Linked DNA regions of Homo sapiens: regions 2 and 3 are each linked to region 1. The links are contacts of gene promoters, found by promoter capture Hi-C in blood cells and fetal thymus (Javierre and others, 2016). All regions are on one chromosome and are shown on one strand. The core of a region is centred on a gene start or on the middle of the fragment in contact, and the rest is flanking DNA. Distances in the headings are between cores, read along the strand shown. Region 1 holds the start of CFAP206 (cilia and flagella associated protein 206). Region 2 overlaps AKIRIN2 (akirin 2). Region 3 has its middle 8.3 kb from the start of AKIRIN2.

Evidence for each region. Contacts are between HindIII fragments. The CHiCAGO score rates a contact against its expected background, and 5 or more counts as called.
Region 2: a fragment that was not itself captured here is called in contact with the fragment with the promoter of CFAP206 in region 1 in 2 of 17 cell types (fetal thymus and naive CD8 T cells); the score reaches 6.6 in fetal thymus.
Region 3: a fragment that was not itself captured here is called in contact with the fragment with the promoter of CFAP206 in region 1 in 2 of 17 cell types (total CD8 T cells and fetal thymus); the score reaches 6.3 in total CD8 T cells.

What each region holds. Positions count from the first base shown.
Region 1 is chr6:87,406,084-87,409,252 of GRCh38, forward strand. It overlaps CFAP206 (cilia and flagella associated protein 206), which reads left to right and starts at 1,889. Exons shown (of 13, transcript NM_001031743.3): 1 at 1,889-2,006. The HindIII fragment of the contact is 4,290 bases long and covers 1,147-3,169 here.
Region 2 is chr6:87,689,392-87,692,459 of GRCh38, forward strand. All of the region lies in intron 1 of AKIRIN2 (akirin 2), which reads right to left. Among named protein-coding and RNA genes, the nearest start is that of AKIRIN2, 11 kb to the right of the region's middle. The HindIII fragment of the contact is 9,255 bases long and covers 1-3,068 here.
Region 3 is chr6:87,708,799-87,712,253 of GRCh38, forward strand. No RefSeq gene overlaps it. Among named protein-coding and RNA genes, the nearest start is that of AKIRIN2, 8.3 kb to the left of the region's middle. RefSeq lists an enhancer at 1,404-1,543. The HindIII fragment of the contact is 672 bases long and covers 1,272-1,943 here.

The DNA.
Region 1 (3,169 bases), core at 639-3,138:
TTTGGCTGAATGTAGCAAAAAACCCAAATAATAGTAGCTTAATAAAATAGGAGTTTATCTTCTCTCATGCAAAGTCTGGAGATAGCCAGTCAAGAAGCTGATAGGGCTGTTCCATGACGTTACCAGGAACTCAGGTTCCTTTTTCATTTTTGTTCCACCATCCTTAAGATGTGACCCTCATGTTTATGTTCACAGCAAGGCTGCTGGAGCTTCAGCCAGCATATTCTCATTTCAAGTAGAAAGAAAAGGAAAGGCAATAGACATAAAATGGAAGTGCTTTCCCTGACACCTCATCCAGTGATTACACTTACATCTCATTGGCTAGACCATGTCACAGGCCACTCTCACTGAGAAAGAGGTTGAGAGATTTTTTTTTTTAAAAGAGAACACTGTCATTCCCAACACAGGGTTAAATTAGTAACAGAAAGAGAAGAAAACATTGACATTAAGTAGGAATTAACAGTATCAAACATACTTCAGGGAGTATTTGTGCCAGGATTTGCCCATTAGTTTAAAACTATACTTAATATGATGGTATTATTCTTACCATCTTAAAAGATATTTAATATTCTAATATATAATATATGCTCATGGAAGACATTTTGGTAGCTATCTTAAAGTATAAAGAAGACAAATCAGCCATAAGCCATTACAAAGTTACAACCACTGTTAAAATTTTGCTATCTCACCGTCCTTTGGTTGCTTTACCTTGTATACTTACAGTATATTTGTATATCTAAATTGGGTTCATTCTCTACAAATAGCCAGTCTCATCTCCCTTGTATTTTTAAATTTTGTTTTATAGATCATAAGACAATATATACTCATTATGGAAAAATCTAGAAAAAACAGAAAAGTATAAAGAAATAAAAGTAATTTACCTATAATTCCATCCTTAGATCTAATTGCTTGCTGTGATTTTGAAAAACTGACCTACACTTTTTGTGCATTATATGTATGTCAATATAGTTTAAGTCATATTATATAAAAATTTCGCATTTGGCTTTTAACAAATATAAGACAAACACAAGGTTTTTGTTAACATAATTTTAAATACCTGCCTGATATTTTACTTAAATAACGTGTTTAGATTTCTAAGGCTGTGCTATTATAAATCTTGTTACTCTGAACATCTATTTTTACACAAGCTTCTTCCACATTCCGGGAACATTTTCTAGAAGGCGGAAATAAAATTGTGTTATATTATGATGTATATTCTTGAGTTTTTGTGTTGATTCATTTCCTAGTAATCAGGGAATGTCCTTAAGCAAAGCATATTCTGCATATTTGTTTGCAGTTTGAGAAAAATTACTGTTTAAAAATAAAACCTTGTTGTTTGATGCTCTCCTTCTAATGAGTATTTAATCCTTTTTCACACTTTCACGTCTGAAGGTGGGCCTAACGATATTATCGTTAAGGGATAAAACCTCATTATTTTGACTCGGACACTAATGTGTTCTTATCATGTGCTTCTTGAATGAGCAGTTTTCTCTTCGGGCATCTTGGAGCGTTCTGTTACAGACTTCCTTTGAACAACGGGACATGAAATAAAACCTCGATACTTTTTACTTTTGTTTTTTAAAACTAGATACTTTTACAAGAACTCTATTTGCCCAGGATACAGCCCTTCCGTTTTCCCAGCCTCTCCAACTGGCTCCTCCCTCTCCCCCACCCCGCTTTCAAAGCCGCCTCATCATTCCCACGCTAGCAAGTTAATATCCTTATTTACGAGAACTTGTGTTTCACAGTCTTAACCACGGAGGTTAAGATGTCTCTGCCTGAAATTCCTTTGTTTTTAAAGTTTTTCCAGCCCATCTTTTGGGGGAAAGACCCTCAAAGTGGGACCCCGCCCCACCCCCACCTGGCCCCGCCCCCTCTGGTCCGGAGCCTTCCATCTCCATGGTTACGCGGCGGTGGCTGCGAGCGCCCAACTGCTCCGACCGTCGCGGTGAGGGCCCCAGGACAGAAGCAGACAGACACGGCTCCTGCTGTCGATTCCGATCCAGGTCAGCCTACTCGGGGCTCCGCGCCCTTGACCCGGAGGCGTACCCCGCCAGGCGGCGAGCTTGGGGCGGCTGGCGGAGCTCGGGCGGCTGGAGGACCGCGTCCTGCCTCGTCGAGACTTAGCTCTCAGTCTCGATCCTTTAGGCTGCGCCGCCGCAGAGCTGGAACAGCGGTCCATTCCTGCCGGAGGCGCCACCCCAGGGCTGCAGGGCTGCCCTCTAGCCTTTGCGCGGGTGCCTGAGGCCTCCCGCTTCTGTTTCGCTCCACTGGCTACCCCAGAAGCCGGACCTCGGGAGACTTAGTAATTGGAGGGTGGGTGCAGGGAAGGTGCTGAGCCGCGTCCCTAGCGACCCGGCAGCGGCGCGCATGCGCACACAGATCCGGAGCGCGCACACAGATCCGGAGCGCGCACACAGATCCGGAGCGCGCACACAGATCCGGAGCGCGCACACAGATCCGGAGCGCGCACACAGATCCGGAGCGCGCACACAGATCCGGAGCGCGCACACAGATCCGGAGCGCGACGGACTCTCCCACTGACTGGCACTTGCGCATGCGCTGCCTGTGATCTTGGAGTACTGATTATAAGCTGTTTTAAGCGATTCCCTTAAGCCGCGCACTGTTGTAACCACTAAAAACAGGACTAATTTAGTCCTCACACCTCTGGAAAGAAGTGAAGCAAGTGCCCAAGGTCTCACAGCTGGACAGTGGTCGGGTCACCATGGAATCCAGGCAATCTGGTTTCACTGGACAAAATGCCTAGTGCTTCGTACTCATCCATTGGAAAGCTAATAATGCTGAGGAGTTGGCTTTATCTACCTGATATTGCCTTTGTTATACTCTACATGCCAACTTCCATTGTGCTTAGTTACTGATATTCAGGAAAATCAGAAAACTCGATCAAAACCTACCACTTTTTCCTTATAGTAAATGCTTTTTTTTATCGAGAGTCTGAACTCTATTTTAGATGTGCGGAAAAGATCATTTTAATGATCTGAGCAAGAATTGTTTTCCAAGATTCTAGTACAGTTCTGAAGGGTCATTTAATGAATGTGGTGGAATAAGCATTTCTCCTTTTAAAGCTGTACTCTTGGGTTTCTCATTAATTTTACCTCCCTCCCCTACAAATACTGCTTAGCCTTTTTTTTTTTTTCCTGAGACACAG
Region 2 (3,068 bases), core at 545-3,044, 280 kb after region 1:
CGCTTAAACCTCGGAGGCAGAGGTTGCAGTGAGCCGAGACAGTGCTACCGCACTCCAGCCTGGGCAACAGAGTGAGACTCGGTCTCAAACAAAAAAAGCATACCTGGAACCAGGATTTGCAAAACTGATGACTAACAGGCCAAACTCAGCCCCATGGACATGATTTTTTTAAAAACATGTTAATTTGTGGCCATTTAAAAACTGGGTGGTTTTACACATAAAGTCAGACTTCTGACTACTCTTGGGAAAACCAGATAACACAGCAAAACTCAGCTGAAGATTCAAAGTGACTGTTACCTTTTGGGCCTAAGTTCTCAAGTGCTTCTACAATTTTAATGCACACACAGATTACCTCCAGATCTTGTTAAAATGTAGACTCTGAAGGGTGGAGCTTAAGATTCTACGTTCCTTATGAGGTGATGCTGCCGGTCAGGACTGGAATTCACTAGTTCCCTCCTAGTTTACTTTAAATCATTTACACATCTGGAACTATGCGTATTTAAAGTTTCTAGCCCCTGCTTAAAATAACAACTCTCTTGGCCACGGGCGGTGGCTCACGCCTGTAATCCTAGCACTTTGGGAGGCCAAGGCAGTTGGTCACTTGAGGTCAGGAGTTGGAGGCCAGCCTGGCCAACATGGTGAAACCCTGTCTCTACTAAAACTACAAAAAAATTAGCTGAGCATGGTGGCAGGAGCCTGTAATCCCAGCTACTTGGGAGGCTGAGAATCGCTTGAGCTTGGGAGGCAGAGGTTTCAGTGAGCTGAGATGACGCCATTGAACTCCAGCCTGGGCAACAACAGCGAAACTCCATCTCAAAAAAAAAAAAACCAAAAAAACAAAAAAAACCAACTCTTAATTGAACATTTTTTAAAAAGTGGTTTACTATTGGACATACTAAGGAGTGGAGAGGAAGGAAAGCAAGACATTAGCAGCAAGGTTATTACAAGTAGGAAAATACCTAAGCTAACTTAAAATCATTTTGCCACCCTCACCTGAATGGTTTTTGCAGTTGTCAGTTCATTGCTTCTCAGCCTTTTGGCTAAGATCAAGTGTAATTCTAAGTCAGACATACCCCTCCTGTAGGAGGAAAATATTCTGCAAATTAATTTAACTTGATTGGACCTACTTAGGAAAACTCATTACATGACATTAACCTATATACAATGATTATTTCATCTCTCCTTATACACTTTAAAAAAGGAAATTCATATTCGTCATTATGTGACTGATGATGAAGCAATTCATTTACTTTACCAACATGACCACTTATTAAAAAGAGGAATTAAGACCACCTCTCAGGCCAGGCACGGTCACTCATGCCAGTAATCCCAGCACTTTGGGAGGCCAAGGTGGGCAGATGGCTTGAGGTCAGGAGTTCAAGACCAGTCTGGCCAACATGGTAAAACCCTATCTCTACTAAAAATACAAAAGTTAAACGGGCATAATGGCGGGCACCTGTAATCCCAGCTACTAGGGAAGCTGAAGCAGGAGAATCACTTGAATCCAGGAGATGGAGGTTGCAGCGAGCGGAGACTGCACCACTGCACTCCAGCCTGGGCAACAGAGTGAGACGGTTTCAACAACAACAACAAAAAGACCACCTCTCACACCATAAGACACTCATTAGAAGTCTACATACATCTCTTATTTATCCCATGTATTTTGTAAATTAGTTGTGAACATTTAAAAGTCAATCGATTTCACAAAAGTTCTGACTTCTAGTGGTGGAGCGAAGGCTACCAAGATCTGACGATAAAAAGTCCAAATTAGGCTGGGCGTGGTGGCTCACACCTATAATCCCGGCACTCTGGAGGCCAAGGTGGGCAGATCACTTGAGGCTAGGAGTTGGAGACCAGCCTGGCCAACATGGTGAAACTGTCTCTACTAAAAATACAAAAATTAGCCGGGCATGGTGATACACATCTGTAATCCCAGCTACTTGGGTGGCTGAGGCAGGAGAATTGCTTGAACCCAGGAGGCAGAGGTTGCAGTGAGCCGAGATCGCACCACTGCACTCCAGCCTGGGAAACAGGGCAAAACCTCATCTTAAAAAAAAAAAAAAAAAAAAAAAAAGTCCACATTTCCCATGGCTGCAACTAAAGAGGAACTGTCTGAACCAACTGAAGATACAAATTAAAGAGACATCTGTAAATGGAAACTGAAGTCAGGAGCAGGCATGTGACTGCTTAGGGAGCTATTAAGTGACATAAGCATGGAGCTAAAGCTAGAACTAAAGAACTGCAAGGTTTAATGCCCAGGTAAAGAGAAGAACAGCTAGGGAGTAGAGGGAAATTGTAGTCAAAGGAGAAAAAGGCCATTTCAAAAAGAAAGGAGTGTGCCAGCAGGCAGAATGCTGAAAGAAAGGTCAAATAAGAGGAGGACTGATTGAGTGTCATGGAAGTCACTGATGACCTGACAGGAGCTGCTTGAGGCATGTCAGGAATTAAGAACTGAAGAAATGGAAGCAAACAGACTATTTGAAAGCTCTCTGAATTTGATTTTGAAGTGGAGGAAATCTGGAAGATAGCTGGAGGAAAATGAGTATGTTTTGTTCTTTTACTTTCTCATGGAAGGCTTGTGAATATATAAAGCCAAAAGCAAAGATCCAATTGAGAGAAGAAATGGAATAATCAAGAGGATAAAGTTACTTTGGAGAAAAGTGGAATCTTTCCCTCACTATATACAGTGCTTTAATAATTGTTTAATCCTCGATGATACTAGAACAGGACAGGCTCAAATGTCAGTAGTGCTGGTACTAAAAACAATGAAAAAACTGTGATTTGATGGCAACTCTTTTGTAGAAGGCAGGCTTAGTCACTGAAAGGCAAACTTGCTGGTGAGTAAAAGTCCCATTTGAGGTTGCCTTCTTGAGACCATTTCCATCACTTGGCCAGTAAATGCTCTTAATTCTCACAACCCTAAGAGGCATATGCTACTATCATCATGTGCACATTTCCTGAGATGAGAAAAATGAGGCTCTGCTTCAGTGTCTTCTGCAATGTCACACGGCTTGAACATGGCAGAGCCAGGTTTGACCTCAGGGCCCAAGTTCTTAACATCTACTACC
Region 3 (3,455 bases), core at 358-2,857, 300 kb after region 1:
GTAACAAACATGATATTAGAAAATATTCTGCCCGGCCATCAGAGAAATGCAAATCAAAACCACAATGAGATACCATCTCACACCAGTTAGAATGGCAATCATTAAAAAGTCAGGAAACAACAGGTGCTGGAGAGGATATGGAGAAATAGGAACACTTTTACACTGTTGGTGGGACTGTAAACTAGTTCAACCATTGTGGAAGACAGTGTGGCGATTCCTCAGGGATCTAGAACTAGAAATACCATTTGACCCAGCCATCCCATTTCTGGGTATATACCCAAAGGATTATAAGTCATGCTGCTATAAAGACACATACACACGTATGTTTATTGCAGCACCATTCACAATAGCAAAGTCTTGGAAGCAAGCCAAATGTCCAACAATGATAGACTGGATTAAGAAAATGTGGCACATATACACCTTGGAATACTATGCAGCCATAAAAAAGGATGAGTTCATGTCCTTTGTAGGGACATGGATGAAGCTGGAAACCATCATTCTTAGCAAACTATCGCAAGGACAAAAAACCAAACACCGTATGTTCTCACTCATAGGTGGGAATTGAACAGTGAGAACACTTGGACACAGGAAGGGGAACATCACACACCGGGGCCTGTTGTGGGGTGGGGGGAGGGTGGAGGGATAGCATTAGGAGATATACCTAATATAAATGACGAGTTAATGGGTGCAGCACACCAACATGGCACATGTATACATATGTAACAAGCCTGCATGTTGTGCACATGTACCCTAAAACTTAAAGTATAATTTTAAAAAATAATAATAATAATAAAAGAAAATATCCTGGCTGGGTGCAGTAGTTCACACCTGTAATCCCAGCACTTTGGGAGGCCGAGGCGGGCAGATCACCTGAGGTCGGGAGTTCGAGACCAGCCTGACGAACATGGAGAAACCCTGTCTCTACTAAAAACACAAAATTAGCCAAGCGTGGTGGCGCATGCCTGTAATCCCAGCTATTCAGGAGGCTGAGGCAGGAGAATCACTTGAACCTGGGAGGCAGAGGTTGTGGTGAGCAGAGATCATGCCATTGCACTCCAGCCTAGGCAACAAGAGCGAAACTCCATCTCAAAAAAAAAAAAAGAAAGAAAAGAAAAAGAAAATATCCCATAGAAGGTATTTAAGATTCAGATAATTTAAAGTTTCAGTTGTTTGGAAAGTTAAATACATGAAATACTTTGGACCATGCATGTTCTATTCACTGCAGAGTGCCAGCTATAAACTAAACAGTAAACATTTGATGAATAATGAAAAGCTTCACACACTATCTCCCCATTGGTGGGGGACCTCAAGCCCCTAAAGGTTGTCTCTAGCCCCGCCTCATCATTTAGTTTTAGAATTCCCTCACACCTTCTACTGCAGCTGTCTGTTCCGTTGTCTTGCTTAAGTCCAAGCCTGACTCAGAATTGGTGTCACTGTCTGTGTCAGGCTCTCGTTCCCTCTTGTGCCTTTTGTCCTGTGGTTCCATGATGCCACCACAAACCTTCTCTGATGAGGCTTTTTGAGAGAATGAGATGATGCCTGCACTTCCCCAATATTTTGGGCTTCCTCTGCAAGCCCATTGTTATAAGGGTTAGCCAGGTGCATGGTGTGAAGGAAATGATAAAAGAGGCTCAACTCTTACCCCAGGAGCAGCTTTCCTAACCCCACCCACTGATAACAAGCATCACCTTGGGACTGATTATTGGTCCCTTGCAGTCCTCAGGGCTTGTGTTAAAGTTAGGGCTTTATAGAGTACTCAAAAAATTGCTAGATTTTATCTGAAACTTGTGTGCCACAGTTTGTTATATATTGTGGCCAGATGAGTACAAGGAATTGTCCCCATCTTGTACTTAAAGGAGACAGTTCACACTCCTGGTATGGTTTGCCTCTGAGTAGTGGGGTCATGGAGTGGGTCCATGGGAATAAGACATTCCTACCTTCAAAGCTTACTTTCTATCTTACAAGCTTGTCTGAAAATTCTTTTTCAAAAGTCCCATTTATCATAATAATTTGGAAAAATAAAATACAATTTTTTTTCTGGAGAAAAAAAGTCATCCCAGTTACCATCAATCTGGAAATTAAAAGCCAGTACATCACACGATACTGTCTAGTGCATAATAAACCCTTAGTTAGCCATGTCTATTATTATCATGCTAAGGAAAACTCCAAAATCTCCCCAAGCCTTTTTGTCTATTAGATTGCCTACAGTCCAGTTACGGCTGCTGAGGTCCAGTTTCTGAGCCAGCTGCCCCCACCACATACACACCCAAGCAGAATGCTGCCAATGACTTTTATTCAATTTTGTCTTCCTCCTGGGTAGTGAGTTTAATTCTCACCTCTGACTGCCTTTCTAGGATGTTCCTTATTATCTTCTATTGTGTTTCAGAGACTTCTTACATGTCTTCGCAAAGAAGAGTGGGAGTTCAGACTCAAAACTGTCAAACTAATATTCCCAACCATTCTCCAGCTGACATTCCAATTCTAATGGAGTCTCAACTTTTAATGTTTTGGTCATGCACAATTGTCAATTTAAAAATTCACAACCCTTCTGAAAGAAAGTCCATGAGTATTCATTGAGAAGAGAATCAGCCAGCCCAATTGAATGTTCTCTGATAAGCATGCAGTACAGGAGTAGTGACTGTCAGGATTATGGCCTAATTTCCAACCTCTAAAACCTACTGTGCCTTTTAGGTTACAACAGAAGATAATAGTGATTGGGTTCATTAAATCTGTGTGTTGGCAGTTTATTTTGGAATATGAAAAGTGACGTGAAAGATGAGATTGGGGTGCACACAAAAATTATTTTGAACACCTAGAGTAGTCTTTCTTGTTTAAACAACCATGTACTGCGAGTCTGCTATGTCTAAGACACTGTTTGACAACACGGAGGCTAGCAAGATGAAGAAGACACTGCCCCTCCCTTACGCTTATAGTCTAGTGGAGGAGAAATGTACACAAATATCACTAGAGAGAGTGCAAAAGAGGGAACTCAGATAACATCTAAAGTTCCCAATCAGTGCAGTTGGGTTTTAGGGTGTGTGTCACTTTAATCCTGCCTAGATAGGTGAGTTACAGCCTAGGTTGGCAATATGTGAGGGGAATATGGCAAAACCTGCAATGACTTTTGCACCAACCTAATAAAAGTTATTGTTTACAGAGGATCCCACCATGGCCCAGGTGTGTTCTCAGCTTATCCTAATAAAAATCCTACATGGTCATAGTGTTAATCCCATTTTACTATTGAATTTGTGGCTCATGCCTAAGGTCACACAGTCTAAAATGGAGCAGAGTAGAGACTATTACTTTCTATCACAGGGGTCATGTCTTAGTTATTAGTTATCTTAGTATCTCTGTGGCCTCACAGAGGGCTTGCCACACACCTGAGGACCGTGGCATAGTGTCACTGACACATCTGCCAAGAAGTTAAGTGAACTAGAGCAGAGCTTCTCAAATTT